3 separate regions of the Homo sapiens genome follow, and regions 2 and 3 are each linked to region 1. The links are contacts of gene promoters, found by promoter capture Hi-C in human tissues and cell types (Jung and others, 2019). All regions are on one chromosome and are shown on one strand. Each heading gives the region's core, a stretch centred on a gene start or on the middle of the fragment in contact. The rest is flanking DNA. Distances are from core to core; before and after follow the strand shown. Region 1 holds the start of CUEDC1 (CUE domain containing 1). Region 2 holds the start of MKS1 (MKS transition zone complex subunit 1). Region 3 overlaps LPO (lactoperoxidase).

Region 1 (2,941 bases), core at 247-2,746:
CAGGTTTCTCCCAGCAGCACCTCTCCATCCCAGAGATGGCACCATATTCAAACTGAGGTACCAGTGGCACTGACCCCCAACAACAGAGAGGACCCAGCTTCACACTTGATCCAGCAGGGGCCCAACCACATGGTGAGATGACTTCCTCCGTGAGAGAATTCCTGGGGTCCCTCACCTCCTTCAGGCACAGCTGGCTATAAAGAAAAGGGGTGAAAGGCCCAGTACATCTCCCTGAGTCCTTTCTCCTGGGCCAGGTGGCTCAGGTGCTGCGGGATCACCCAGGGAAGGCTCATTCCTCTCGCTACAAGACGCTGACTGCGGATCAGGTGGGGAGCACGGTGGATGGTCTTCTTGTATCCTCTATCGCCTCCAGGGCATCTTGTTTCTAAACTCCCAGGGAGTCCCCTCATCTTCTACTCCACTACTCCACCAAAAAAAGGAAAATCTAAACCCTCCCTCCCCTTAAAACACATTCCGTCTCAGGAATTTAATTTCAGTGTACGTTTCTTAGAGCTAAAACTTTTTTTAAGGGGAAAAGAAATGGGCAGGGCAGTGCTGGGTGTAAGGCGACCACGCGACCGAGAAAAGGAAGAGGGAGGAATGAATAAACGCTGACACCAGCCCCCCTTGGAGCTCAGAGCCTGGGGCACAGGAGCCGGCGGGGCGGGCGAGCAGGGGCGGGGACAGCGCATTCCCAACTTTCCCTGGCCGAGCTGACGGGAGATACAGCTCCCAGGGGACCGGGAGGGACCAAAAAAGGCTGAGCCGACCTGTGACATCGGCGGGGGGCAGGAAGCGAAGCTCCCCTCCCCCTGAAAGGCGCTCGGCTCCCAGCAGGCGCCCCCGCCTGCCGTCGCCGCCCAGCCTGCGCCCCCAGGCCCGGGCACTGCGGGGAGGGGCGCCCACACAAAAGGGGGAGCGGCGGGAGAGGGGACTCGGGCGAAGCCGGCTCCGGGAGGCCTCGTCTCCCTTCCCTGCGGCGCTGGCCCGCGCCCCCCGGTCTAATCGCGCGCCCCGCTCCCGGCCCCCCAGATGCCCGCACGCCCCCCGCGCCCGGGGCCCGGGATGAGGTGGGGGCTCGGGAAGGAAGGGCGGGCGGGGACCTGCCGCACGCGGAGCTCCCGGGGAGCCGCGCCGACAGCCCCGGGAATCAAACTCGCGACGGCCCGGCCCTCCCGGCGGCGCCTGGGCAACGGGTCCCGAGAAGGTGGGGCCGCTGGGCCGGGGCCGCGGCCGGGATTGCGCGCGGGGCGCCGGCGAGGACCGCGCCCGGGGCCGGGCGGGAGCCGCGGGAGCGCGGGGGTCTTACCGGGCAGCGCCACGCGCGTCCGCTCCGCGCGGGCCGCAGGGGCCGGGCCGCGGGCCGGGCGGGGGAGGGGCTGCAATCCGCAGCGGTGGCGGCGGGGCCAGGCTCGGCGGCGGCGGCGCGGCTGGGGCGCGGGGAGGCGGAGAAAGTGAGGCGAGGCCGGCTTCCTAGCGGCGGGCGGCGAGAAATGCAGCTGTCCCTGCGCGGCTGCCGGCAGGGCCACAAGTGGGGCCGCGCGGGGAGGAGCGGGGCTGCGGGCGGGGCGGGGCGGGGGCCCGGCTGCGGCGCCCCCGGGCCCTTTCCCTATGGCCGACCCCTTTCCAGAGAGGAGGGAAGCGGACCTGGGGGTCCGGAAACCTACATGGTTGCCGGGGGTGGAGAGGGGAGCACCCAGTGAAGGCTGGAAAAATGCCCTCCGTGTACCTCCCTCCCCGGCCGCAGTGACTCCCTAGCTTGCGGGCAGGAGGGCGTGAGCGGGGTGCCTCGACCTCCCGCGCAGAGCGGGGTGCGGGGCATCCTGCCCCTCCCAGCTGCGGAGAGGGTGGGCGGAGGAGACCTGAGACCTCCGAGACTCCGCGGGGAGCTAAGAGCAGGGCTGCCCGACAGGTTCCAGGTCAGTGCCAGGAACCCAGGGTGAGGACGCACAGCTGGGGCTTGGGACACAGGTGTGGAGGAGGGGCACCTCCCTGGAATTAGGGCCCCGGAAAGGAAACCAAATCAAATGCTGAGGACACAGGAGATGGTGGGAAGGGGGAGCAAATCAAAGCTATCACTCGTCCACACCGACAGATACCACCTGCCATCTCCCATTTTCTCCTCCCCCAACCTCCCCAGCATCCCTGATCACTTCAAGGGCTGCTGAGCCCTGGGAAGATTTTCCACGGAAGAACTTGTTTAATAAATGGGAAACTGACCTTTGCTATACTTTTCCCACGTGCTTTCATTTCAGACTCCAATTTGGGAGTAGGTAGCCTAGGTCAGGTGGTGACCACCAAGCACCCTGCTACCTAGGGGATCTGAGGAGGGTGAAGAAGGCCAGATGCAAACTAAGCTCTGTCCCCAAACAACTTGCAAAGGGTCTGCACCCTCCTCCTGGAAAAGTCTGCCTTACAGACCCATTTGCCCATCTGGGCCCAGAACCCCAGGAATAGCCCCCCTCTCCCCTCCTCTGAGCGCTTGCAATTTGCTAGCCTTGCTGAGACAGATCGACACGCTCAGCCTCAGAGACAGCTGATGGTAAAAACCACAAACCAAAGTGCCCCAGACACCAATGTGTTTCCATCATTTGCATGTCAAGGGCAAGTTTCTTCAGCAAGGTGGGAAACTGGGAGGGGGAGAAACCTCAGAACCACACCCTCCTCGGGGAGGCCCAACGTTAGGTTAGCATGTTGAACGGAACTCCAGGACTGGGTTTCCAAACCCCTCTGAGGATCTCCTCTCTCCTGCTCCTCTCTCCCCACACTTCACTCCCTGGTGCATTCAATTTCCGGGGGAGGCAGGGTGCTTGAAATCCCAGAAGATGGTCTTCAGGCCCCAGGTTAAAGATTCTTAATCCGAAGGGACAGACCCATGCCTCTATACTGACTCCTGGCTCCTTTCCCAGGTTGTAACTGAGAGCTCAGGATTTGTCCGCCT
Region 2 (2,700 bases), core at 70-2,569, 260 kb after region 1:
AGAAACAATAAAAGCAAACAGACTAGTGACCTGACAACAACCACTCTGTCCTCTCCTCCTCATTCTTTTGGTTTCCCAGATAAGGAAAACCACAAGAACACAGTTGATCTATACATGCACATCATATGCAGATTTTGCAAGCAGTCTCCAGTTTAAAAATTGTTTTTAAAAGTGTTTATATGTGTATTTAGGGTTTGGGGCACGTTTTCTCTTTTAAAAATGCCACAAATAGGACGGGCGCGGTGGCTCACGCCTGTAATCCCAGCACTTTGGGAGGCCAAGGCGGGCGGATCACGAGGTCAGGAGATCGAGACAATCCTGGCTAACACGGTGAAACCCCGCCTCTACTGAAAATACAAAAAATTAGCCGGGCGTGGTGGCGGGCGCCTGTAGTCCCAGCTACTCGGGAGGCTGAGGCAGGAGAATCGCGTGAACCCGGGAGGCGGAGCTTGCAGTGAGCGGAGATAGCGACACTGCACTTCAGCCTGGGGGAAAGAGCAAGACTCCGTCTCAAAAAAAAAAAAAAAAAAAAAAAAAAAAAAAAAGCCACAAATAGAATGTAGGTTGCCGGGCAACTCTATAACATATCAGAAGTATAGTATTTGTTATCTCACTACATTTGGCCACAATTCTGATTAGTATCATAATTAGTATTAGATGGCACATCACCACCGTAACACCCACTGGCAGTTGGCTGAGGCCTAAAAGTGGCCAAGTCTATGAGGTCCTTCCCGAGCTCGGCAGCAGGCTGATAATGAAGAAAGTTGCTTGATGTGATTCTTTGCAGGTGGACTCTGTCAAGAAAAGCCCAAAATATTCGTTACCAGACACGCAACCAGGAGATGAACACAAAGCAAGGATGGGGGAAACAAAACAGAGGAGGTAGGGTTGCCAAGGTGTGCTGGGTGCAGACAACGGAGAGGAGGTGGGTGGGTGCGCCGTCCTATGGGGAAGAATGAAGGGGAGAGGGTGTACTGGGGGCACAGGGCTTTGAGAAACTGGGAGCAACAAAGACGTGAATGGACTTGGGTAGGTCTGTAAGGGGTTCTTAGAGGCTGTGAGTGGATGGGGGTACGGATAGTGAAAGAAGTGGGGAGCCCGGAGAAGTGGTCGGGATTGTAAGCAGAAAGTGGGGACCTCAGAACACCGAGCTCAGGTTGGAATGATCTAAGGACACAAAAGCATGGGGCCTCGGGGCTGGGGCGGTGCGACTACCGGAGGCGCAAGTTGCGCACGGGGTCCCGGGAGCGATACACTGCCTCCCCGGTGTCAGTGCTCCAGACGGTCTCCGCCATGACAGCTGCGACGCGCCGCGACTGCGCCGGAAAGCGCGCCGCTCTGTTTTCCTGGCAACGGAGACGCTGGATCGGGAGGCGACGGAGGTGCTGCGCGCGCAACCCGCCGTTCCCGTCACGGCGCCACGGTCGCAGTTGGCCACACAGTGCAAGTGCAGCCCAAGCCGAACGCCCAAGAGGGCTCCGGGGTCCTACCGATCACCGCTTACCATGTATGCGATAAAAGCTCACCGAAAGCGGGACCTCGTGCGCTGTGCAAATGAGGAAACTGGCACAGCCATCAGCCCACTTCATATAGACAGATAGATGCAGAAATGATGACGGGGACCAGGTGGCCTGAGTCTTCGCCCTCTACCTTTTCCACCATGCCACACTGCCTTCCACCCAACGCGTGAAAACTTTGGCCTGAAAATCGGGTGATGTGACTGTAAGAAATGCACCCATTATTCCCAAAGGAGTCAGGGAAGGTGATGGCCCTTAGCCAGACAAGAAAATATATTCTTGGAAGACAAAAAAAGTGTCAGAAGATTTATTAGTCTTTGTGTTGATATTCACTGAGCAAAGAAAGAAAAAACAAGGAAGTCAACAGTAAGGAAGGAAACGATGTTATTATTGAACTGATTCTTACCTTGTGTATGTTAGTTTTGGATCATTAAGCCACTTTGTTACTGCACTGGCTTCCTGAAAAGCCAAAAAAGTGACATTCACAAGTCATGCTTCGTTGTACTAGCAAAGGAAGGACATGCTGTAACCTCACGTCTGGCGTCCCGGCACTTTGGGAATGTCAACATTTATCAGCCTTGTTCACATCTAGTCCTCCTCCAACAAAGTAAGCAATTGTCCCCTGAACTCGGGAATCTCATGCCAGTTTGATGATTTGGCATTGGAAGCTCTGGGTGCCATAGCCACTAGTTGTGTAACACCGACTCACCATAAATAGCACCATTTATTTAGGATCTAGTGCAGCTTGAGCACTTTTGTTTGCATTGTCCCAAATCCTTGTAGAAGCCTCTCAAAAAGGTACTTTTATTCACTTTAAAAATGAAGTTCGTGAAGGCCAGGGTTTAAAGGACTTGCTAGCTTGCAAGTGGTAAAAGTACTGGGATTCTAGCCCAAGTTCTTCTGTCTTTTGAAGCCTAACCACCTTCCAGTTTGCCTCACAGCCTCTCACCTACCAATTTATTCCATAAACGCACACATTTCCAACCTGGGAAATAATAATTTTTTTTTTTTTTTTTTTGAGACGGAGTCTCGCTCTGTCGCCCAGGCTGGAGTGCAGTGGCGGGATCTCGGCTCACTGCAAGCTCCGCCTCCCGGGTTCACGCCATTCTCCTGCCTCAGCCTCCCAAGTAGCCGGGACTACAGGCGCCCGCCACTACGCCCGGCTAATTTTTTGTATTTTTAG
Region 3 (2,954 bases), core at 261-2,760, 300 kb after region 1:
ATGTATGGGGTACATTAGATGGCTTGATAAGGGCATACAATGTGAAATAAGCACATCGTGAAGAATGAGGTATCCTGCTGGGCACAGTGGCTCATGCCTGTAATCCCAGCACTTTGGGAGGCTGAGGTGAGCAGATCATAAGGTCAAGAGATCGAGACCATCCCGGCCAACATGGTGAAACCTTGTCTCTACTAAAAATACAAAAATTAGCTGGGTGTGGTGGCATGCGCCTGTAGTCCCAGCTACTCGGGAGGATGAGGCAGGAGAATCGCTTGAACCCAGGAGGTGGAGGTAGGAGGCGGAGGTTGCAGTGAGCCAGGATCACACCACTGCACTCCAGCCTGGGCAACAGAGTGAGACTCCCTTTCAAAAAAAAAAAAAAAAAGAATGAGGTATCCATCCTCTCAAGCATTTATACATTGAGTTGCAAACAATCCAGTTACACTCTTAAGTTATTTGAAAATGCACAATTAAGTTAAATTATTATTAACTATAGTCACCCTGTTGTGCTATCAAATAGTAGGTCTTACTCTTTTTTTTTTTTTTTTTTTTTTTTTGAGATAGAGTCTTGCTCTGTTGCCCAGGCTTCCTCAGCCTCCTGAGTAGCTGGGGTTTCAGGCACCTGCCACCACGTCCTGCTGATTTTTGTATTTTTAGTAGAGATAGGGTTTCACCGTGTTGGCCAGGCTGGTCTCAAACTCCTGACCTTAAGCGGTCCACCCACCTTGGCCTCCCAAAATGCTGAGATTACAGACATGAGCCACCGCGCCTGGCCATCATTCTATTTTTTGGTACCCACCAACCATCTCCACCTCCGCCCCCCACAGCCCCTCATTACCCTTCCAGGGATCTGGTAACCATCTTTCTACTTTCTATGTCCATGAGTTCAATTGTTTTGATATTTAAATCCCACAAATAAGTGAGAACATGCCATGTTTGTCTTTCTCTGCCTGGCATATTTCACGTAACATAATGATTTCCACTTCCATCCATGTTGTTACAATTGACTAGATTTCATTCTTTTTTATGGCTGAATAGTACACCATTGTGTATATGTATCACATTTTCTTTATCCATTCATCTGTTGATGGACACAAGTTGCTTTCAAATCTTAGCTATTGTAAACAGTGCTGTAACAAATGTAAGAGTGCGGATATCTCTTTGATATACTGATTTTATTTCTTTTGGGTATACACCCAGTAGTGAGATTGCTGGATCATATGGCAGCTCAATTTTTAGTTTTCTGAGGAATCTCCAAACTGTTCTCCATAGTGGTTGTACTAATTTACATTCCTGCCAACAGTGCCAAATGTGTTCTCCACATTCTTGCCAGCATTTGTTATTGCCTGTCTTTTTTATATAAGTTATTTTAACTGGGGTGACATAATATCTCATTGTAGTTTTGATCTGCATTTCTCTGATGATCAATGATGTTGAGCACCTTTTCATATGCCTGTTTGCCATTTGTATGTCTTCTTTTGAGAAATGTCTATTCAAATCTTTTGCCTATCTTTTGATTGGATTATTAGATTTTTTTCCTATAGAGTTGTTTAAGCTTCATATATATTCTGGTTGTTAATCCCTTGTCAGAAGGGTAGTTTGCAAAATTAATATTTTCTCCCATTCCGTGGGTTATCTCTTCACTTTGTTGATTGTATCCTTTGTTGTGCAGAAGCTTTTTAATTTGATGTGATCCCATTTGTCCATTTTTGCTTTGGTGGCCTATGCTTGTGGGATAGTGCTCAAGACATTTTTGCCCAGACCAATGTCCTGGAGATTTTCCCCAATGTTTTCTTGCAGTAGTTTCACAGTTTGAGGTCTTAGATTTGTCTTTAATCCATTTTGATTTGATTTTTATATATGGGTAAAAGATAGGGGTCTAGTTTTATTCTCCGGCATATGGATATCCAGTTTTCCCAGCACCATTTATTGAAGAGACTGTCTTTTCCCCAGTATATGTTCTTGGCATCTTTGTTGAAAACGAGTTAACTGTAGATGTGTGGATTTGTTTCTGGGTTCTCTATTCTGTTACATTGGTCTTTGTGTCTGTTTCTATGCCAGTACCATGCTGTTTGGTTGCTATAGCTCTGTACTATAACTTGAAGTCAGGTAATGTGATTCTTCTGGTTTTGTTCTTTTTGCTTAGGATAACTTTGGCTACTCTGAGTCTTCTACTTTTAGTTTTAAAAGGAACTGCCAAACTATTTTTTAGAATGGCTGTACCATTTACATTCCTATCAGCAATGTATGCATGATCCAATTTCTTAGCATCCTGACGGTGTCACCACCATTTTTTGTTTTATCCTTTCTGATAGGTGTGTAGTAATAGCTCATTGTTTTAATTTGCATTTCTCTAATGGCTGGTAATGTTGAACATCTTTTCCTGTGCTCATTTGCCACTTGTGCATCCTCTTCAATAAAATACTTGTTCATATATTTTGCCTATTTTCAAATTGGACTATTTGACTTGTAATGTTGAGTTTTGAGAGTTCTTTACGTATTCTAGACACAAGTCCTTTGTCAGATATGTGATTTGCAGTGATTTTCTCCCAGTCTATAATTTGGTGGGGGTTTTTTTTTTCATCCTCTTAAGAAGGTCTTTTGTAGAGCAAAAGCTTTTAATTTTAATGAAGTTCTTTTAATCAAATTTTCCTTTCCTGGATTGTGCATGTGATGTCAAGTCTCAGAACTTTTTTCCTAGTCCTAGGTCCCAAAGACTTTCTCCTGCTTTTTCCTTCTAGAAGTTTTATAGTTTTATGTTTTACATTTAAGTCTATGATCCATTTTGGGTAAATTTTTGCATAAAGTGTGAGGTTTAGGTCAAGATGCTTTTTTAAATTTTTTCTGGCTATGGATGTCAAATTGCTCCAGCACCACTTATTGAAAGGCTATTGTTTCTCCATTGAATTGCTTTTGTTTCTTTGGTAAAAAATATTTGGGCATATTTACATGGA

Evidence for each region. Contacts are between HindIII fragments. The study calls those that stand out against the background at their distance.
Region 2: a contact is called between the fragment with the promoter of MKS1 here and the fragment with the promoter of CUEDC1 in region 1, in 1 of the 25 tissues and cell types used here (liver).
Region 3: a fragment that was not itself captured here is called in contact with the fragment with the promoter of CUEDC1 in region 1 in 1 of the 25 tissues and cell types used here (liver).

Annotation. Positions count from the first base shown.
Region 1 is chr17:57,953,916-57,956,856 of GRCh38, forward strand. It overlaps CUEDC1 (CUE domain containing 1), which reads right to left and starts at 1,497. Exons shown (of 11, transcript NM_001271875.2): 1 at 1,310-1,497. RefSeq lists a silencer at 1,352-1,421. The HindIII fragment of the contact is 13,236 bases long and covers 1-2,941 here.
Region 2 is chr17:58,217,936-58,220,635 of GRCh38, forward strand. It overlaps MKS1 (MKS transition zone complex subunit 1), which reads right to left and starts at 1,320. Exons shown (of 18, transcript NM_017777.4): 1 at 1,216-1,320; 2 at 685-794. The coding sequence starts at 1,295. It overlaps LOC105371841 (a long non-coding RNA gene), which reads left to right and starts at 1,379. Exons shown (of 2, transcript XR_934884.4): 1 at 1,379-2,124. RefSeq lists an enhancer at 1,148-1,427. The HindIII fragment of the contact is 13,166 bases long and covers 1-2,700 here.
Region 3 is chr17:58,256,459-58,259,412 of GRCh38, forward strand. All of the region lies in intron 9 of LPO (lactoperoxidase), which reads left to right. Among named protein-coding and RNA genes, the nearest start is that of LPO, 19 kb to the left of the region's middle. The HindIII fragment of the contact is 4,431 bases long and covers 1-2,954 here.